Regions from separate parts of the Homo sapiens genome. Here region 2 is linked to region 1. The links are contacts of gene promoters, found by promoter capture Hi-C in blood cells and fetal thymus (Javierre and others, 2016). All regions are on one chromosome and are shown on one strand. Each heading gives the region's core, a stretch centred on a gene start or on the middle of the fragment in contact. The rest is flanking DNA. Distances are from core to core; before and after follow the strand shown. Region 1 holds the start of TRIM4 (tripartite motif containing 4). Region 2 holds the start of CYP3A4 (cytochrome P450 family 3 subfamily A member 4).

Region 1 (3,085 bases), core at 250-2,749:
CATAAGGATTTTAAGGGATTTACCTGAAAAGATTTAAATGACTACTGTAAGGGGAATAAATACTTTGCAGGAATGCTGAAACTTCTCATTCAATACTTAGGTAAACATATAGACACACAGATGCCATAAACACTCATGGTAAACATCAGTAACTGTTAAGAGCATTCCTTCCTGCTTGGTCCCTATTAAAGAACCAGATCCCTTCTCCATAGAGTATTCCAATTTGCAAAGAAAATCCATTCATTAGTTGTCCAATTTAAATGTTTTAGAAATATTCAGTGGAACTTTCATCAATAACCCCCAAACAGATACCTCAAGAACCCCTTTTTCTAATCATTTAATCATACTACTTACTGAGAAAAATTATTATAGGAAAGGCAGTATTTGATATTGGGACATAAAAAGAATGAAAAATCTGTTAAATAAGCAAAAGCCCATTAGCCTGAGGCTGTCTTGGTACTTGAGTTCCCATATAACAAAATACAACCTGACTTAGTATGTAAACGAACTGAAGCCTAACTTACTTTATTTTTTATAACAGCTGGGTTTCAGCCAATCACGGCCGAGCTTCAGCAAATAACAGACAGCCAACTGATCAGACCATGCCCCAATAAGGCAAATGCCTCATCATATCATTGTCAAATAAGGCAGACACCTAGATGTTAGCTAATGAGGTGATTTCTCTACTTTGCTTCCTATAAAAGCTAGCAGGTCATACTGCTGGACAGAGCTCTCTGAACCTCTTTTGGTTCTGAGTGCTGCCCAATTCATGAACTGTTCTTTGTGCAAATAGCTTCTATTAAATTTGTCAGTCCAGAGTTTTTTTTGTTTTAAACAAATATTCACAAGAAAAGGAAGAAAGTGGGAAGAATAAAAAGCAAAGCACCTCAGAAACACAAGATCGAAAATCCACTTAAGGGATATAGATAATTCCCTGAAACAGGTGAGCATATTATTTGTTGAAAGCCTCCATGGATGTTCTTTGGGATAGCAAAATGGTTGCTACTTTTCAAATTGGATACCAAAAAGGCAATGTATCTGCATCTCAGAATCCAAATCATCCCCACGTTAGCCAAACTCCAGGCCTACCAACACAGATCCTTCAAGTCTTCCTGGCCTTCCAGGCCCCTAGGCTGCAGCTCGCCCAGAACTCCTGGGACTCTAAAACTTAAATCGGTCTAACCAGCAGGCGAACACAGACCTGAACCCTCAAACTTGGAAAGAAAGATCATAGGCACCTCCCCGGTTGGCTCCCCCAGGGACCACAACGTCCGGCTCTAACGCCTTGCCCAAGTCCTCTGTAGCTTTCCACAGGCATTTCTGGGTCTCTATAGCTGTTTGGAGGAGCCACTCACCGGTCCCGTCCTGCCCCGCGCCTAGGCCTGAACCAACCCCCTCGCGGTTCCGGCGCGGATACCCAGCAGCTTCCGGTCTTGCGCGCTCAGGCCGGGCAACGTCCGTGCGTTCTTTTTGGGTCCTGAACCCCGGAAGAGAAACTGCGTTGTACCCTTTTACGTGAGGCGGTGACGGCGGTTCGGAAGTCGTCTGGCCTCCCCGCGGCCGCTCGCAGCTTGCTGGCCTCTCCCGCGCCTCACGTCGGACTCCGTCTCCGCGGCAGGGAAGCAGCATGGAAGCTGAGGACATCCAGGAGGAGTTGACCTGCCCCATCTGCCTGGACTATTTCCAGGACCCGGTGTCCATCGAGTGCGGCCACAACTTCTGCCGCGGCTGCCTGCACCGCAACTGGGCGCCGGGCGGCGGCCCGTTCCCCTGCCCCGAATGTCGGCACCCATCGGCGCCCGCCGCGCTGCGACCCAACTGGGCCCTGGCCAGGCTGACTGAGAAGACGCAGCGCCGGCGCCTGGGCCCCGTGCCCCCGGGCCTGTGCGGCCGCCACTGGGAGCCGCTGCGGCTCTTCTGCGAGGACGACCAGCGGCCAGTGTGCCTGGTGTGCAGGGAGTCCCAGGAGCACCAGACTCACGCCATGGCACCCATCGACGAGGCCTTCGAGAGCTACCGGGTGAGCTGGCCGTCGCGGTGACTATGACGGGGCTGTCAGTGTTGCCCGATAAAGTTTACTTAATGCTCCTAAAAGAGCCACGAAGTGGCTGTCATTCCTACTGGAAGCATGAAAAGCCCCTGAAACTCAAAGAAGTTAAGCAAAACACGAATTTCAGAGCTAGGGTTAAAACTGGAATGAGAGGAGGGGAGGTGCAAACCTCAGCAATCATTGTGCAGAATTTTCAATAAACTGGCCCTTGGGGAGCTCATAATAAAGAAAAACATACTGAGAGGGTGTGTGCCGCTGCTGTCCAATAGAAACCACATATGTAATTTAAAATCTTTCTGGTAAGATAAGGAAACGAGGTGACGTTAATTGTAATAATATATTTTATTTAATCTGATTACCCCAAATATTCAAAGCTGAGATGAAAATTATCAATGAGATTTTTTTTTTTTTTCTGAGATGGAGTCTCACTTTATTGCCCAGGCTGGAGCACAGTGGCGTGATCTTGGCTCACTGCAACCTCCTCCTCCGGGGTTCAAGCAGTTCTCCTGCCTCAGCCTCCCGAGTAGCTGGGATTACAGGCACACGCCACCACACCCGGTTAATTTTTGTTTTTTAGTATAGAGGGGTTTCACCATCTTGGCCAGGCTGGTCTCGAACTGCTGACCTCAAGTGATCTGCCCCGCTTGGCCTCCCATAGTGCTGGGATTAAGGTGTGAGTCACCACGCCCGGCCTCAATGAGATATTTTATACTCCTTTTTCATAATAGGTCTGAAATTGGTGTGTATTTTACATTTACAACACATAGCAGTTTGGAATATCCACGTTTCAGGTGCTTGTATGGCTAAATGGATACTGTATTGGACAGTGCCTGTCTGTATCTGTAAATGTCATAGACAGCTGATGATTTGGGAAAAGCCTAGCTTGTAATGATGAGGCTGGGTTTTGTTACTAGCTTCCTTCATCAGTTGGGAAAATCCTGTAACATTTGAATTTGGGGATTATCTGTCCTATCTCATGGGTTAAGAAGCTCCGGTTGAATAAATCACTTTACCTTACTCTGCTTCAGCCATACT
Region 2 (3,276 bases), core at 777-3,276, 140 kb after region 1:
GTAGCAGTTGGGAAGCTACTTGCAGTCACTGAGCCTCAGTTTCTACATCTGTAAACTGGGGATAGTAGCATGGCCCCTACTTAATGTGCTCAGCAAAGCCACTGAAAGGAGACAGAAATGTATCTAAATTCCCTGGACTTTTATCCTACCTCTCTTGGGGATTGTCACCACCTTCCCATGTTTGTCCTTTTTGGTTTGATGCTTGCTGTCACTTCTTTCCTTAGGTGCCTCTCTGTACGGCTCTTTTATCCCAGGGATTCCAGAGTTACAGCACATGCATACCACCATCCAAGCATGTTTATTTGTCTCCTGCTTCACTAGGCTGTCCCCAAGGAACATGTGGCTCCCGGCACACACCTGGCACAACACTGCACATGACATTCACCCACTTGGCCTTGAATCTGACAAGGAATCTGGCATGATGTTCACCCACTCAGGCCAGGTGCCGAGCAGCCCTGGAGGCTTAGGGGCCAGAGGGATGGGAAAAGGTGTCTTTCTGGGGTGAGTATCAGTTTCTGCAGGAGGGCTGAATGTGAGAAAGAATAAAGAGAGAAGGAAGCGAACAAGCACAGCTTAAACATCGCCTATTTCTATTGAGTTTTAAGAACGCTGTGATTTTGTTTGTCATGCAATCCATTCATCAGGCCAGGCAGACACAGAACTTGGGTGTGAGTGACGATAATGAGCTGATATAATTTTCACACCCTCATCACTGAGATCTCTCCCATCAGGAATGGGTCAGGGAGCTCACAGGTGGCAGCAACTGCTATTACAGGCCTCATCTCTACCAGCTCCTGGGGCCTGCCCTCCTCCCATTAGAAAATCCTCCACTTGTCAAAAAGGAAGCCATTTGCTTTGAACTCCAATTCCACCCCCAAGAGGCTGGGACCATCTTATTGGAGTCCTTGATGCTGTGTGACCTGCAGTGACCACTGCCCCATCATTGCTGGCTGAGGTGGTTGGGGTCCATCTGGCTATCTGGGCAGCTGTTCTCTTCTCTCCTTTCTCTCCTGTTTCCAGACATGCAGTATTTCCAGAGAGAAGGGGCCACTCTTTGGCAAAGAACCTGTCTAACTTGCTATCTATGGCAGGACCTTTGAAGGGTTCACAGGAAGCAGCACAAATTGATACTATTCCACCAAGCCATCAGCTCCATCTCATCCATGCCCTGTCTCTCCTTTAGGGGTCCCCTTGCCAACAGAATCACAGAGGACCAGCCTGAAAGTGCAGAGACAGCAGCTGAGGCACAGCCAAGAGCTCTGGCTGTATTAATGACCTAAGAAGTCACCAGAAAGTCAGAAGGGATGACATGCAGAGGCCCAGCAATCTCAGCTAAGTCAACTCCACCAGCCTTTCTAGTTGCCCACTGTGTGTACAGCACCCTGGTAGGGACCAGAGCCATGACAGGGAATAAGACTAGACTATGCCCTTGAGGAGCTCACCTCTGTTCAGGGAAACAGGCGTGGAAACACAATGGTGGTAAAGAGGAAAGAGGACAATAGGATTGCATGAAGGGGATGGAAAGTGCCCAGGGGAGGAAATGGTTACATCTGTGTGAGGAGTTTGGTGAGGAAAGACTCTAAGAGAAGGCTCTGTCTGTCTGGGTTTGGAAGGATGTGTAGGAGTCTTCTAGGGGGCACAGGCACACTCCAGGCATAGGTAAAGATCTGTAGGTGTGGCTTGTTGGGATGAATTTCAAGTATTTTGGAATGAGGACAGCCATAGAGACAAGGGCAGGAGAGAGGCGATTTAATAGATTTTATGCCAATGGCTCCACTTGAGTTTCTGATAAGAACCCAGAACCCTTGGACTCCCCAGTAACATTGATTGAGTTGTTTATGATACCTCATAGAATATGAACTCAAAGGAGGTCAGTGAGTGGTGTGTGTGTGATTCTTTGCCAACTTCCAAGGTGGAGAAGCCTCTTCCAACTGCAGGCAGAGCACAGGTGGCCCTGCTACTGGCTGCAGCTCCAGCCCTGCCTCCTTCTCTAGCATATAAACAATCCAACAGCCTCACTGAATCACTGCTGTGCAGGGCAGGAAAGCTCCATGCACATAGCCCAGCAAAGAGCAACACAGAGCTGAAAGGAAGACTCAGAGGAGAGAGATAAGTAAGGAAAGTAGTGATGGCTCTCATCCCAGACTTGGCCATGGAAACCTGGCTTCTCCTGGCTGTCAGCCTGGTGCTCCTCTATCTGTGAGTAACTGTCCAGGCTCCTCTTCTCTGTTTCCTTGGACTTGGGGTGCTAATCAGGCCTCTCTTTCCCTTATCTGTTTTGAAGATCAAAAAAGATGTTCAGGCCGGGCGTGGTGGCTTACACCTGTAATCCCAGCACTTTGGGAGGCTAAGGCAAGTGGACTGCCTGAGGTCAGGAGTTCAAGACCAGCCTGGCTAACATGGTGAAACTCTGTCTCTACTAAAAATACAAAAATTAGCTGGGCATGGTGGTGCACGCCTGTATTCCCAGCTACTTGGGAGGCTGAGGCAGGAGAATTGCTTGAACCCGGCAGGCGGAGGTTGCAGTGAGCTGAGATCATGCCAGTGCACTTCAGCCTGGGTGACAGAGTGAGGCTGTCTCAAAAAAAAAAAAAAAAAAAAAAGATGTTCAAGGAGCAGTAGCTTAAGTGTTGGATGCTACAAACATATAGAGGTTATTGTAGATCTTATGCAGCTCTATAAAGGAATAAATAAGCATCTTCCCCATCCATCTTTAGTGGCAAGAAGGGTTTTGGGATAGCATTGATTGAGGATGATCTACTTGACAATAGTTTGGACCCAAGGAGGATAAGGAAGGAAAGTAGTGACGGATCTCATTCCAAACTTGGCTGTGGAAACCTGGCTTCTCCTTACTAAACTAGAATTTGGATTTTACATTTTCCCCTTTATGTTGCAGTAGAAGAGGATGAATCCTCTCACTGGTGGGATCCTGCCATCCTAGAGCAGGTAGAGAGAAGAGTCACTCCCCACTGTGGGTAGTGGAGGCTTCTCACATGTCACATTTCACTTCTACCTCAATTTCACTCTTACTAAGATTTGGGAATCATAATGACAGGAAAATAGAAAATATAAACCTCATTTTAATTCTTTCACAGAAAGGTTAGAAATTCAGTGAGTTGTGGCAACATATTTTCCATCTTCTGACCTTTTAACACTAATTGATATGGCTTAAATTCATTCTATTTTAAACCAGATTTTTTTGGAGATAGTCTATTTCCAACATGTTCCTTCTAGGTGACAAATGAGGGCTGTTAGTTCAGTATTTGTTACAATAAA

Evidence for each region. Contacts are between HindIII fragments. The CHiCAGO score rates a contact against its expected background, and 5 or more counts as called.
Region 2: a contact is called between the fragment with the promoter of CYP3A4 here and the fragment with the promoter of TRIM4 in region 1, in 2 of 17 cell types (erythroblasts and neutrophils). The highest score is 7.3, in erythroblasts.

The regions. Positions count from the first base shown.
Region 1 is chr7:99,917,944-99,921,028 of GRCh38, reverse strand. It overlaps TRIM4 (tripartite motif containing 4), which reads left to right and starts at 1,499. Exons shown (of 6, transcript NM_033091.3): 1 at 1,499-2,020. The coding sequence starts at 1,628. It overlaps LOC101927610 (a long non-coding RNA gene), which reads right to left and starts at 1,426. Exons shown (of 2, transcript XR_001745296.3): 1 at 1,202-1,426. RefSeq lists enhancers at 1,128-1,237, 1,478-1,557, 1,588-1,637 and a silencer at 1,768-1,927. The HindIII fragment of the contact is 3,942 bases long and covers 1-3,085 here.
Region 2 is chr7:99,782,934-99,786,209 of GRCh38, reverse strand. CYP3A4 (cytochrome P450 family 3 subfamily A member 4) reads left to right here and starts at 2,026. Exons shown (of 13, transcript NM_017460.6): 1 at 2,026-2,199. The coding sequence starts at 2,129. RefSeq lists an enhancer at 1,854-1,877, a silencer at 1,898-1,955 and promoters at 183-2,031, 1-2,076, 1,664-2,078, 774-2,078. The HindIII fragment of the contact is 7,327 bases long and covers 1-3,276 here.